Regions from separate parts of the Homo sapiens genome. Here region 1 is linked to region 2. Evidence: promoter capture Hi-C in human tissues and cell types (Jung and others, 2019). All regions are on one chromosome and are shown on one strand. Each heading gives the region's core, a stretch centred on a gene start or on the middle of the fragment in contact. The rest is flanking DNA. Distances are from core to core; before and after follow the strand shown.

Region 1 (6,972 bases), core at 1,233-3,732, 140 kb after region 2:
GACTTTCAGAGGAATGGTACTAGACTCATGAACTAATTTGAGAAGAATCCAAATCCTTAGTTTCAAGCTCATTATCTAGAAATAGGGTTTTTAGTAAAACTCTTTAAGTCTTCTTCATCTACAACTAAGCAATCTGTAGTTAATAATAACTTTGTCATTTTTCTTTATAATATTTATTCTCCAAGTTACTATTTTATGACTCTCTGCATTGACTAAAACTTGAAGAGGTAACGAGTGATGCCTTTATTGTTTCACCAGTAAGTATATAGCGGCAGTGGGCTGCATGAACCTGATATTCCTTATAATATTAAAGATTGGTCACTTTATATATTCCTCTTAAAGTGGTATATAAAAACTTAAAAACTGATTGAATACACTTTTGGAATTAATGAGGTTATTACATATCTTTATTTGAACAACTTATATGAACCATAGGAAAATATATGTATATGAAGCTATTCCTGCATTCCAGGAATATAATCTATTTGGTTATGGTAGAACATTCACATACTCTATTGTTGAAATCTACTCGCTAGAATTTTATTTAAAACTTTTACATTCCTAAGTGAGACTGGTATAGATCCTCCCTCTGGGGACTTGCCTGTTTTGATATCAGGGCCTTGCTTGCTTGAAAGAAGGATCTGGAAGTTTTCCATCTTTTTTCTCAATCCCGCAACAGTTTATATAACATAGGAATTATCTGTTCCTTGAGAGTTTAAAAGGATTTTCAAAGGCCTTTTTATATCTTAAAATATTCCACCTGGCACAGGGGTGTATGAGTGTGTGTGTGTCCACGTGGACATTACCATGTTAGTATACATTTAGAATGACATGTAAGATACTGATCTCAAATGGAACAGCTCTATTATAATTTATGGCCATTCTTTCCCCCATGAAAAGGGAGTAAATGCCCAAGATGATAAAGTGTTCAGAAAAAAACACATTTTCCCAGGCTTTGGTTCCAAGAGCCTCCTTTTAAGAGGCACATGAAGGTTATAGAAGGTGATCATGGAATATTGGATGTGTTGAACCATTCAAATTTCATTGAGGCTGACCAAGTTGGCAACCACAACTTTACCACTGACATTCGGAACTAGGAAAGCTGAGACCTGGAGAGACAAGGAGAACCTCTGTCTAGCCCCAGGTCACCTCCAGCTCTGTGGTAAAGGTCTTCCAACTTCCCATTTTATTGTGCCATCTGCAGCCTAGGATGCTTCCCCTCTTCCACAACAAGGAACACTTGTCGCTCTAAGGCTTTCTGTACTGCAGGGCCCCTGGACCAGTGACCCTATAAGCACTTCACAGGCACCACAAATAAAGACTCAAGAGTTGTTTCGGACTGAATGTTTCTCTTCCCCCAAATTCCTATGTTGAAGCCCTAAACCCCAATGGGATGCCATTCGGAGATGAGGTCTTTGAGAGATAATTAAGTTTAGGTAAGGTGAAGAGAGTGAAGCTCCCACGATGGGATGGGTGATCTTATAAGAAGAGGAAGAGGAGATTCCTGTCTCTGAGTGCACAAGGAAGAGATCAGGTGAGCACACAGCAAGATGGCTCTCACTCACAAGCCAAGAGAAGAGGCCTCAGAATAAAACTTACCTTGCTGAGCACCTTGATCTTGGACTTCCCAGCCTCCAGAGCTGTGAAAAATAATTTTTATTTATTTATTTATTTTTAAGATGGAGTCTTGCTCTTGTTGCCCAGGCTGGAGTGCAGTGGCACAGTCTCGGCTCACTGCAGCCTTCATCTCCCGGGTTCAAGCGATTCTCTTGCCTCAGCCTCCCGAGTAGCTGGGATTACAGGTGCCTGCCACCACACCTGGCTAATTTTTCTGTATTTTTAGAGACGTGGTTTTGCCATGTTGGCCAGGCTGGTCTCAAACTCCTGACCTCGTGATCCACTCACCTCAGCCTCCCAAAGTGCTGGGATTACAGGTGTGAGCCATTGCGCCCGGCCCATAAATTTCTATTGTTTAAGCAACCCACTTTATGGTATTTTGTTATGGCAGCCTGAGCTAAGACAAGAATGTTGTGGTAATGTCTGTCAAAAAGCACAATGTCGTCTGCCGTGGAGCAAGATATGCCTTGAGAGAAACCAGTGGTAAGGGGTCTGAACAAATTAAGACCCAATGTTGGCTGGGTGCGGTGACTCACGCCTGTAATCCCAGCATTTTGGGAGGCCGAGGCAGATGGACCACGAGGTCAGGAGTTCGAGACCAGCCTGACCAACATGGTGAAACCCTGTTTCCACTAAAAATACAAAAATTAGCCAGGCATGGTGGTGCGTGCCTGTAATCCCAGCTACTCAGGAGGCTGAGGCAGGAGAATCGCTTGATCCCAGGAGGCAGAGGTTGGAGTGAGCCAAGACTGCACCACTGCACTCCAGCCTGGGCAAAAGAGTAAGACTCTGTCTCAAAAAAAAAAAAAAAAAAAAAAAAATCCAGTGTCTGCTAGAACATGCAAGAACTGTGCCATATAAGCATACGAGCACAGATGAGGCTACTAGAAGGACTCAAACGGTAACGCTTTGCCTAAGAATGCGGTTAACAGACAATAACTGTAGGTGTTAGTGTGCCACAGAATGGTCTTCTTTTTATTGAGAAAGCCACATCTGAGATCACGTCCTTGTTTACAGGAGACCCATGAAACGTTAGAATTAGGACACCTTTTGCCAGTCAAGGTGATGAGCATTAGGATAGTCCTGCAGGAAGGCAACCAACTTGCTTTGGCTCCAGGATTCCATGATTCCATTCACAATTTCACACGGGCGAGCGAGCAGTCTTTCTGTCCCAGTCAACAAGGACAGAGGGGTTACTTTCACACCAGTCATGGCCTAACACAGAAGCTTAATCCTGACTGGAAGGCAAAGTGTGTTTGTGGCAAAGCCAGGCAGACGTGTAATGAAAGCAGAATGAGTAATGTTTAGTTAAGCTTCTGGATGGCAGGGGTGGTTGGGTGTATGTTTGGGGATTTTTAATGACTCCAAAAGGCGTCTTAAAAAGTCACACTATTTTGGCAGTTCTGAGATGCAACTTTTGCTACAAGTACTAACACCAGCAAGTGACTGCTACAAGTATTAATACTAGCACTTACCGGCAACATTTCTCACAAGCACCCCTTCCTTTCTGGGGCTCCTGGGATCAAACCAAGTTTTCTGCATATGTGGGGGGTTGGGGGTGGGGTTGGCACACACACCCTTTCCCACCTACAGAGGCATACCATACAACTGAAAGTCAGATCAAATTGAAGACATTTATCATTTTTAGGGTTAAATAGTGGAAAAGGAAAAACTGTTGACACACTTTCTAATTTGAACTACTTAGGTATTGCAAGATTTTCTTCCTGCTGGTGGAAAATTAAACTAACAATTCTAAGTTAATGACTGCAGGGTAAACGGCTCCTTCCTTATAAAATAAATTGGGTTTATCAAAACTTGTATTAAAATGGATTTTCCCCCAACTTTAACTTATAAATCCAATCAAGATATGACTCTAGAGAACTCTTAGGCTCCAAGTGAGGCTTCAAAAAGTAGGGTGTATTTCCCTACAGTTGCACATTCAGCAGCTAACTCCACATCACCAGGTGGGCACCTGACACCTGGAGGGCAAATGCGGGGCAGTGCCCACCCTCCCTTGGTGGAGTTTTCACAGGTGATGTCAGAAAAATAAGAACAATGTAGTAAATTATTCCTAAAGCTGAGTGTTTTCTATTTAAAGATTTTTGTTTTGTTCTTATATTATCTTTTCCTACTACTTTGGCATCAAGATGGTTTTTTCATAAAAGCTTTGTGATGAGTGTTAAGAGTTTTTAAAATGTCCTAACTTGGCAAAATAAAAAAGACTGGGAGCCCTAGGTCAATGACCTAAAGCTTTTTTTTTTTTTTTTTTTTCTCCTAGTGCTTTCTGGGTCCAGGCAATCTTCATTTGAGAACCACTAGTTTACAGCACTCTCTGAGCCAAGGAATTTGGAGTCAACCAGTGCTCATCTAGGTATCAAAATGGTGGCAAGCCCCAAGTGCAACTAACAACCTACAGAAGACGGAAGTCTAACTTTAGTCAACACTCAGGGAGTGGGGATGAAGAATGTAGTCTTCAAAGCTCCTGGCCACTATGGAACACTGTTCTCCTGCTGCACCCTACATGCTCACCCCTCCATCGTCAAAGCCTCCTCCTCCTGGTTCTGGAACAGGTGGTAAAGCTTTTGGAGGCCCTGTGCCAACCAGTGCTCTCCGCACCGTTAATCTGGGAACCCCAAATCAAGATGCTTGACCCTCCTGGGATTCTGAGAGGTCAGCCCTGTGGCACCAGAGGCTTTCTGGAATGATTCATCATATTGTCAGCTGAAATTCTACTGAAGTGGATGCCCAAGACTAGTTTCTCAGTACTGCAGTATCTCACTCAATCCCAGTGATCCGAAAATCCATCCATCCTCCCAGGACAGTCTGACTGTGTAGCTGGTTCAGGAAACCAAAGGCAAGCGGGGGTCACTCATCCCTCCAGAGCCTCCAGACTGAGAATAAGGAAAAAAATCGCTAGGTGCAGTGGCTCACGCCTATAATCCCAGCACTTTGGGAGGCTGAGGTGGGTGAATTATGAGGTCAGGAGATTGAGACCATCCTGGCCAACATGGTGAAACCCCATCTCTACTAAAAATACAAAAATTAGCTGGGCGCGGTGGCGTGCGCCTGCAGTCCCTGCTACTCGGGAGGCTCAGGCAGGAGAATCACTTGAACCTGGGAGGCGGAGGTTGCAGTGAGCCGAGATCGCACCACAACACTCTAGCCTGGTGACAGAGCGAGACTCCGTCTCAAAAAAACACCCAAAAAACCAACAAAAAAAACCCCAAAAATCAGCTGGGATAGGTCATGAGGTCATGACAGGCCATCAACTATTTAAGAGATTTTTCAACTAAGAATATAAGAACATATTGCCATAAAATTTTAAAATCCCTATATTCTAGAGGTTCTATCTATTTTCAGTTGTATGCTCCTTAAACTTATCTGTATTTAGGCTTCCCCCAAAATGAATTCTAACAGAAAAAAAAAACTTCGGTAAAAAAAGAATCCATAAACACTAAATATTTTAATACCTTTATTTACCTCCTCTCTAACAGAACTAATCAGCAGCAGATAATATATTTGTTACGAAGAGAATTAATTTTCTAGTTAAACATGCACATAAAAACATAAAGGTGACAATATTTGGCAATATATGACACTAATAAAGGTAACATTTATTGGGCTATCCACTGGGCTAAGCGCTTGACTCAGATCACCTCAGTTAATCCTTACAGCAAACCTATAAAGTAGGTGCTATTCTTATTTCCATTTTATAGATGAGCTTATAAATGAGGAACCTCATTACTGTAATTTAATCTTCACCAACCCAGAATTTGAGTTCAGTGTTTACTCTGGCTATTAAAAGGTTGAATAAGCAAATTAGAAATTAAACGGGATTTCAGAAGATATATTTAACCTACTAGAAGGTCGTACGTTTTAAGACATACTGAAAAACAGATGCTAACTGCTTCCAACAGGATGTGTTTGGGAAGATCCTGCCTGACACTATACCACATTAAAACACTTGAAGATTCAAACTTTTACTAGTTAAGGTTGAGTGTCCTCTCACTATTATCCCCAATGACTGGTCCAAGTTAGTAAGGTATTATTCTACTTCTATGGGTGGTACAGTATGGTGGATGTCAGCTGCGGCTCCCAAGTTCTATTTCCCTCCTACCCTGACAAAGTGTCCAGAACTCTACACACCCCCAGCCTCCCCACAGCCTGGTGCAGGAGCCAGTCTGGTGCAGAAGCCAGCCTGAGGATGAACTGACCCAGGGAGGAAGGAGTGGAGAGATTAAAAAAAAAAAAAAAAAAAAAAAAAAAAAAACCTGGATGGTTTAGGATACTGCTGAGCTGCTGGTTCACACCCACCCTGCAGTCCACCCTATCCCTGCACATGGCAGGTACATGAGCTGATTAATCAATTCATTGTGCCGTGGGAGCCCCTGAGTTAGGTTTTCTGGTATTCAGAATTAGGATTTTTGGTAGTCAGCCTGAAAGAATCCAAACTGATAAATGGGAAACGAGCTTCTATGGCCTGAATGTTTTGTGTCTCTCCCAGATTCATGTGTTGGAATCCTAATCCCCAAAGTGATAGTGTTAGGGATGAAGCCTTTGGGAGGTGATCAGGTCTTGAGGGTGAAGCCCTCATGAACAGGGTTAGTGCCCTTATTCAGGAGGTCTGAGAGAGCTCTGGTCCCTTCCATGACGTAAGGACACAAGAAGTTGTCAGTCTGCAACGTGAAAGCAACCCTCACCAGAACCTGACCATACTGGCACCCTCATCTCAGACTTCCAGCCTCCAGAACTGTGAGAAATATGATTTGTTGGTGGTTATAAGCCTCCACATCTATGGCATTCTGTTATAATAGCCCAAACAGACTACGATGTGTGTGAATCCACAGTCTCTTCCTGGCACTTACTCAGATTTTGTTTTATGTTGTTTTTTGGGTTTTTTTGTTTGTTTGTTTTTAAACTGTTTCAAATGTTTTGTGTTGTTTTTCCCGAGAAAATGTAAGGGGCTTTCGAGAAACACTTTCATGAATTAATGAGTGGCCTTGGGCAAATCCCTTGACTTCCCTGGGTCTTTTCAAGTCTGAAAAGGACTGGGATCTCCGTTGCTCCTACCATCCCTCACAGCCGGCACATCTACGTAGCTGACCTCACAATGCAAAGTTTCACTCAAACATACACAAAAGCCTCTTTTGGTCTAAAGTAGAAACGTCCTTATAATCCAAGTGACCTGCAACTCTTGACTCTGTGAGACTGTTCCCATTCGCTCCGCAGATCCACCCTCCATCCTCCTTCAGGCAGCTCTGCCCCACAGAGGCTCTGCCCTCCGTGGACAGCATCCACCCAGTTCCCTTGCCTTCTGGCTCTGACTGAGGCTGCCTAATGGGAGGCACTGGCATC
Region 2 (7,556 bases), core at 1,160-3,659:
TTTGAGACAAGGTCTCACTCTGTTATCCAGGCTGGAGTGCAGTTGCATGATCATGGCCTGGACCTCCCAGGTTCAGGTGGTCCTCCCACCCCAGTCTCCCAGATAGCTGGGACTACAGGCACGGGCCACCAGGCCCAGCTAATATTTTGTACTTTTGTAGAGATGGGGTTTCACCATATTTCCCAGGCTGGTCTTGAACTCGTGGGCTCAAGCGATCCTCCAGCCTCAGTGTCCCAAAGTGCTGGGATTTCAGGAGTGAACCACCACCTAGCCACGTTTTAAAAGCCTATTCTTAGCTTATTGTCCTTCCTCTCCTTACCCAAGATAGAGACAAATCATAACTCTATAATCTTCTTTGCACCAAAGGGGAAAAGGAAAAAGGAAATCAGGTACAACACAAAGTGGTAAGAGGTATGTGCCATTCTTCAGACAAAATTGCATAGAAAATTCCCTCCCAACAATTACACCAGTGACCCCACAATCGAGTTGTGCAAGAGGAGCAAGAATATTACACTTCTCAGTCACATTCTCCCACTATAAACCTCTGCTTTTTCTTTTCTTTTTTTTTTCTTTTCTTTTTTTTTTTTTTTTTGAGAGAGTCTTGCTCTGTCGCCCAGGCTGGAGTACAGTGGAGCATTCTCAGCTCACTGAAACCTCCGCCTCCTGGGTTCAAGCAAGTCTCCTGCCTTAGCCTCCTGAGTAGGTGGGATTACAGGGGCCCACCGCCACACTCAGCTAATTTTTGTATTTTTAGTAGAGACGGAGTTTTGCCATGTTAGCCAGGATGGTCTTGATCTCCTGATCTCGTGATCCGCCCACCTCGGCCTCCCAAAGTGTAGGGATTACAGGCGTGAGCCACCGTGCCCGGCCAAGAAGTTTTTAAATTGCATTTTTTCTTTGTATTTCTTGAGAGAGAGAGAGAGAGAGAGAGAGAGTGTGTGTGTGTGTGTGTGTGTGTGTGTTGGGGGAGTGGTGGTTTGGAAGGGAGGGCTGTCTGGGTAAATTTGTCTTAATAAAGCAGTTCAAAAATTTCAATCTCTAATACCATCTGACTTTTCTCAAGAACAGTGGTTTTCAGGCCGGGTGCGGTGGCTCAAGGCTGTAATCCCAGCACTTTGGGAGGCCGAGGCTGCCGGATCACTTGAGGTCAGGAGTTCGAGACCAGCCTGACCGACATGGTGAAACCCCGTCTCTGCTAAACATACAAATACTAGCTGGGCATGGTGACGCATGACTGTAATTCCAGCTGCTCGGGAGGCTGAGGTAGGAGAATCACTTGAACCCGGGAGGTGGAGGCTGTAGTGAGCCGAGATCGTGCCATTGCGCTCCAGCTTGGGCGACAAGAGCGAAACTCCGTCTCCAAACAAAAACAAAAACAAAAACGGTGGTCTCAAAGTGTAGTCTGAGGACGTCTGTGGGGTCTGAGACACTTTCAGGGGATCCGGGAAATCAAAACTATTTTCATAAAACCAAAACGTCATTTACAACTTTTCCACTCATTCTCTTACCAGTGTACAGTGAAGTTTTCCCGTGACAGCCTGAGGTGTGATATAGGAAAAGATTAAATACAGAAGCAGATTTGAATCTAGCTTTTATTAAGCCAGAAATTAAAGAGAGCTGCAAAAATGTAAAACATTGCTGCTCCTTACTCAGTTTGTTCAGAAAATATATTTTTCATAAAGTATTAGTTGTAACATGTAATGAGTTAGTGTTACTTTTAAATCAATATATATTCTTAAGTTTTATTTTCCAAAAAGCTAAATATAGATAGCAAAAACCCACAAAAACAAAAGCTCTCTGGAGTCCTGAACTCCGAAAGTGTAAAGTGGTCCCAAGGCCAAAAAGCAGGAGAACCGCTGCTGAAAAGTTTTTGCTCCTCCTGCAAATAACTGCGCAGAGGATATCTAACCCACTTCTCTGGCTTGAGACCTTCATCTAAATTTGGATGCCAGGAAAGCATCTCAATTTAGTTCCATGGGAAGAGTCTGATATCTTGCACCAGCTCAGCCTCTAATTTTCGCGAGGCAAATTTCCTGTCTTCTCTGAGCCTCAGTTTATTTTGCAAGCGTGAAAGGAGGGGTTTTGGAACATACGAAGTACAAAATCTTTTCCAGCTCTGACATTCTACGATTATTCTTGTTCCTATCTTTGCCTGGACTCACTAACTTATATTTAATTCCATGAGAGAATTCTGATAAAACTAGCCCCTTTCTCGTCACTTTCCTGTAAACGGCGCGAGGTGAGGGATAAATATCAGGAAAAATCCTGATGGGCAGAGCGGCTGGTGGCAGGGAAACTTAAAAGCAACTATCCCGGTCAGCCCTCCTAGTCTCCCTAGCCAATCCAGTACCTGCCAGAGGCGCCGGCACACAGCACCGAACGCTGTCCGCGCCGCCATCTTGCCGGTCCCGACCTCTCAGGATTGCTTCCGGGGTTACAGCGGCGTCCTCAGACCATAGAGTTCCGCAAAAGAAGAGAGTACATCCTCATGTTCCGGCGCTGGAACAACCATAGAGACATGAACCTGTGCTTTTTGGGGGCGGGACAGTTGGCTGGCCAGGCTGGTTTGGCTCCGGCCAGTGTCTGGATAGTTACCAAGCCCTATTAATGTTTTCACCTTTAAATTGTTGTGTGTGTATACACACACACACACACACACATTTATTTATTTACTTATTTTTTCCTTTTAGAGACTGAGTCTCACTCGGCTGCCCAGGCTGGAGTGCAGTGGCACAGTCATAGCTCACTGCAGCCTCAAACTCCTGCCTCAAGTGATCCTCCTGCCTCAGCCTCCCAAGTAGCTGGACTACAAGTGCGTGCCACCACAGCCGACTAATTTTTTGTTTTTTTTTTTAATTTTCTTGTAGAGACAGGGTCTCATTATATTGCTCTCGTTATTTTGTGGGCTGGTCTTGAATTCCTGTCCTCAAGTGATCCTCTGGCCTTGGCCTCCCAAAGGACTGAGATTACAGGCATGAACCACAAAGCCCGGACTGAAACTAGTGTATTGACACCATTTACTTCAGTACTGGAATAATGGGTGATTTATTTTCCTATTTTTGCATTTTTCAATTTTTTTTGCATTTTTCAAAATTTTAACAAAATCTATATTTAACAAGAAAAAGAAAAGTCGGCCACTACCATTGGGTCCAGTTGCCACTCAGTTACCTTATTGCAGCGGCTTTCTAATTATGGTTCTTAATCCTTTCTTCCTTCCCCACACCAATTGGAATTCCTGTGCTCCAACCATTTTGTATACCGCTGTCCTACTGATCTTTCTAAATTATTCATTTCCTTATGTTACTCTAGTATTTAGGAATTTACAATGGCTAGCTTCACTTACAACAAGCCAAAGTGTTTTGTCTAATTATTAATGTCCACCATAATTTTTTCCAAGTAAAAAGATGTATAACTGGGATTTGCTATAATAAAAACTTCTTCAGGCTGGGTGCGGTGGCTCACGCCTGTAATCCCAGCACTTTGGGAGGCTGAGGTGGGCGGATCACCTGAGGTCAGGAGTTCGAGACCAGCCTGGCCAACATGGTGAAACCCCATCTCTACTAAAAATACAAAAAATTAGTGGGGTGTCATCGTTGTGTGCCTGTAGTCCCAGCTACTCAGGAGGCTGAGGCACGAGAATTGCTTGAACCCGGGAAGTGGAGGTTGCAGTGAGGCAAGATCGTGCCACTGCACTCCAGCCTGGGAGACACAATGAGACTCTGTCTAAAAAAAAAAAAAAAAAAAGAAAAGAAAAGAAAAGGCCAGGTGCAGTGGCTCGGCTCACACCTGTAATTCCAGCACTCAGCACTTTGGGAGGCCAAGGCGGGTGGATCACCTGACGTCAGAAGTTCAAGATCAGCCTGGCCAACATGGCAAAACCCTGTCTCTACTAAAAATACAAAGTCAGGCATGGTGGTGTGCACCTGTAATCCCAGCTATTTGGGAGGCTGAGGCAGGAGAATCTCTTGAACCCGGGAGGCAGAGAGTGCAGTGAGCCGAGATTGAGATTGTACCACTGCACTCCAGTCTAGGGAACAGAGCGAGACTCCGTCTCCAAAAAAAAAACTTATTCCATTTGTGCAAATCTTTAAAAATTTATTTTTATTTTTCCTTTTACTTTCTCCTCATCTTAAAGTCTGCTTCTATAATACTATATTGTCTTTTTTGTGTGTGTGTGTGAGACAGTGTCTCGCTCTGTTGCCCAGGCTGGAGAGCACTGGCTTGATCATAGCCCACTGCAGCCTCAAACTCCTGGGGTTAAGTGATCCTCACACCACAGCCTCTGGAGTATCTAAAACTACAGGTGTTTGCGACCATTTTTTATTTTATTTTTATTGTTTTGTAGAGACAGAGACTTGCTATGTTGCCCAGGCTGGTCTCAAACTCCTGGCTTCCAGCAATCCTCTCACCTTGGCCTCCCAAAGTGCTGGTTTTACAGGTATGAGCCACTGCACTTGGCCCATTTGTTCACATTTCTAAGCTTTATTTCCCCAAAGTGCTTTCACATATGCATTTTAGCCTAATGGAAAACTCTAGCCTTATAATCAGATCTGGTTTCTAATCCCAGGCTTACCAGTTAGTTGAGTGACTTTGAGCAAGTTACTTCCTTACCCTCAGCCTCAGTTTGCTCATATGTCAAAAAAAAAAAAAAAAAAAAGATAACAGTAGTTCCTGCTTCCAATAGTTGCTTGGGAATTCAATGCAATACCAATATATGGTGTTTAGTACAATACTGCCATGTAATGATACACTATAGATGTCATCCACTATTTGTGCCATTAAGTTTCTACCTCACCTGCCTCACAAGGTTGTTGAGAAGATTAAAAATAAAAAGATCAAGTTTATGAGAATATTTTATAGCATCCAAATAAAGAACTGTACAAATATAAAGTTGTTTTTTTTTTCTCCCCACAAATAGTTATTACTACCCTATTTTGCAGGCAAGAGAACCAAAGAAGAGGCAGAATGATTTGCCCAACATCACACCTATCTAGGAGATAGAAAAGGTCTAGGAGCAGAAACCAGTTTTCCTGCCCCTCAGGCTGGCCTCTGTTTACTAGAATTCAGTCCGTGTTGAGGTGTGGCAGAGATTCCAGTGTGGCCTTGCAACAGGGTATGGAAACAGCACACTTCACCTGTGTGCACTTCTTATTTATTTATTTTTGAGACGGAGTTTCACTCTTGTTGCCCAGCCTGGAGTGCAATGGCATGACCCTGGCTCACTGCAACCTCCACCTCCTGGGTTCAAGTGATTCTCCTACCTCAGCCTCCTGAGTAGCTGGGATTACAGGCATGCGCCACCACGCCCAGCTAATTTTTGTATTTTTAGTAGAGACGGAGTTTCTCCATGTTGACCAGGCTGGTCTCAATCTCTTGACCTCCTGATCCGCCCACCTTGGCCTCCCAAAGTGCTGGGATTACAGGCTTGAGCCACCACACCCGGCCTCACCTGTGTGCCCTTCTGCTGGACTCGGTGATGCCCCATGTTGGCAGGTTGCCCAGTGCCCTTCTCAGAATCAGTCTCTCTCTCTGAATTGTGACACTTAAGGGGATTTCTCTCAGCCAATGGGGTTTTCCAACAGCCTCCCCACTCCCAACTCTGTTCCTGCTTCCAAAGTTTGCATCGGTTTGTCCAAATGGCACTTCCGTGAGGCCCTTCACCCTGCCTCTGTCCCCTTTGAGTAGCCTCAGCTGGGTGAGTGTTCTGCAACTATAGTGCTTGCAAACGACTTTCACCTAAGTTACCTACTCTGATCCACACCAGAAGACATGGATTTTATCCTCATTTTATAGATGAGGAACCCAAGGTGAAATGACTCACTCAGGGTCATATGGTAAGTTAGTTACAGCTAAACCAATAACCATCTTAAAAGCAGTGCCTTTTCTACCTCTGCAGTGGGCTGGTGCTGATTCTATGATGAGGTTCGGTTCTATTTAAATCTCTTGGATAATAGGACTAGAAATACCCACCACCCTAGCACCACTCCAAAAGAAATAGGGGCTTATTTTTAAAGACCTGTGTGGTCTGGACAGCTCCTGGAACTGGAAAGGTATGCTTTAAACAGTCTTAGGGACTGGATACCCTCTTCACTCCTGAGGCCAAATGTGTTCTTTTTAATGATGGGCTTTCACTGCTTACCAATAGTTTCTGCTCCCTCAGGACTCTGCATGGCCACTGCTCTCTGCTTTTGGCTCATCAAGTTTCTCCATTCATACTCTCAAATGTGGAAATTTGATTTGGTTCTCTCATCTTCCTGGGCTGAGCCAAATGTGTCACCACACGGCCTAGGGGCCTAATGGTTTGGGATCAAGTGCCGACTTGCTAGGGCCTAGGTAGAACTCATTGTAAGGGGCAACATCAGGTTTTGCCCAGAGTAGGGCTGTGAACAGTGCTCTTTGGCATGAGGTGTGGGCAGGGACAGCGTTCTGAAGCTTGGCCTATCCGTTAAGGGTCTCTTTCCTACAGCCTAAACTTCCAGACACCCAACCTCATGTAGAGGAGCAGGAGTCCAATGATTCTAGATAGTTGATGCAAGTAAACCTTGCTTTATGTCCAGAAAAAATAAACATAGATACATCAAATATTTTACAGTTAATCATATTTTGATTGTGCCAGTTGTTCTGTTTTTAAAGACAGTCCTTTCCAAAAGATCCTCTCGTACATAAAGGAAGTAATCAGCTCTTTGGCTCCTTTTTTTATATTTATTTTTATTATTATTGTTTTTTTGAGACACAGTTTCACTCCTGTTGCCCAGGCTGGAGTGCAATGGCTTGATCTCGGTTCACTGCAACCTCTGCCTCTTGGGTCCAAGGGATTCTCCTGCCTCAGCCTCCCGAGTAGCTGGGATTACAGGCATGCGCCATTATGCCTGGCTAATTTTTGTATTTTTAGTAGAGACAGGGTTTCTCCATGTTGGTCAGGCTGGTCTCAAACTCCTGACCTCAGGTGATCTACCCGCCGCGGCCTCCCGAAGTGCTGGGATTACAGGAGTGAGCCATCACGACTGGCCCTTTGGCTCCTTTACACAGGGATATCTACAATTCAAAGATCACTTATGGTTCTCTTAGGAATATATTATTCAATTTCTTAAAATGTCTTCCTAATTATGCTTTGCTGTGTCAACATGAACTCTCATCCACATTCCTAGAGCACATCTCAGCTCGCTGGCGGTGGCTGAGGATGGTAGATAGGGAGTAAATGGAATTCAGGATTTACACACACATTCTCTCTCTGCCAAATGCACACATGGATGAGCGTACCTGGAGGACTGGCGAGTTAACTCATTGAACAAATAGTTGCTGAGCACCCGCTATAAATTGCTGTGTACATGTGGGTGATGGTGAGAGGATTCCGAATATTGATAGGTCTCTTCTCAATCCTGGAATTGAATCTGTTCCAAGGCCCCCATATGTCTTTCTAGGTATTAAATTCCTTGGCAGGAAGGAATCATGTACAGCCATCTTTATACACTCTCCTCCCCCTGTATAATACAGTATGGAATAATGGTGGCTCATGAGGATCGACTGACTGAATAAAAGTAGAAAAAAATCTTCCA

Evidence for each region. Contacts are between HindIII fragments. The study calls those that stand out against the background at their distance.
Region 1: a contact is called between a fragment that was not itself captured here and the fragment with the promoter of MRPS10 in region 2, in 1 of the 25 tissues and cell types used here (mesenchymal stem cells).

The regions. Positions count from the first base shown.
Region 1 is chr6:42,354,916-42,361,887 of GRCh38, forward strand. The region is part of intron 3 of TRERF1 (transcriptional regulating factor 1); the gene reads right to left. Among named protein-coding and RNA genes, the nearest start is that of TRERF1, 94 kb to the right of the region's middle. The HindIII fragment of the contact is 3,097 bases long and covers 935-4,031 here.
Region 2 is chr6:42,215,452-42,223,007 of GRCh38, forward strand. MRPS10 (mitochondrial ribosomal protein S10) reads right to left here and starts at 2,410. Exons shown (of 7, transcript NM_018141.4): 1 at 2,351-2,410. The coding sequence starts at 2,398. RefSeq lists enhancers at 522-1,124, 1,125-1,726, 2,298-2,577. The HindIII fragment of the contact is 13,512 bases long and covers 1-5,456 here.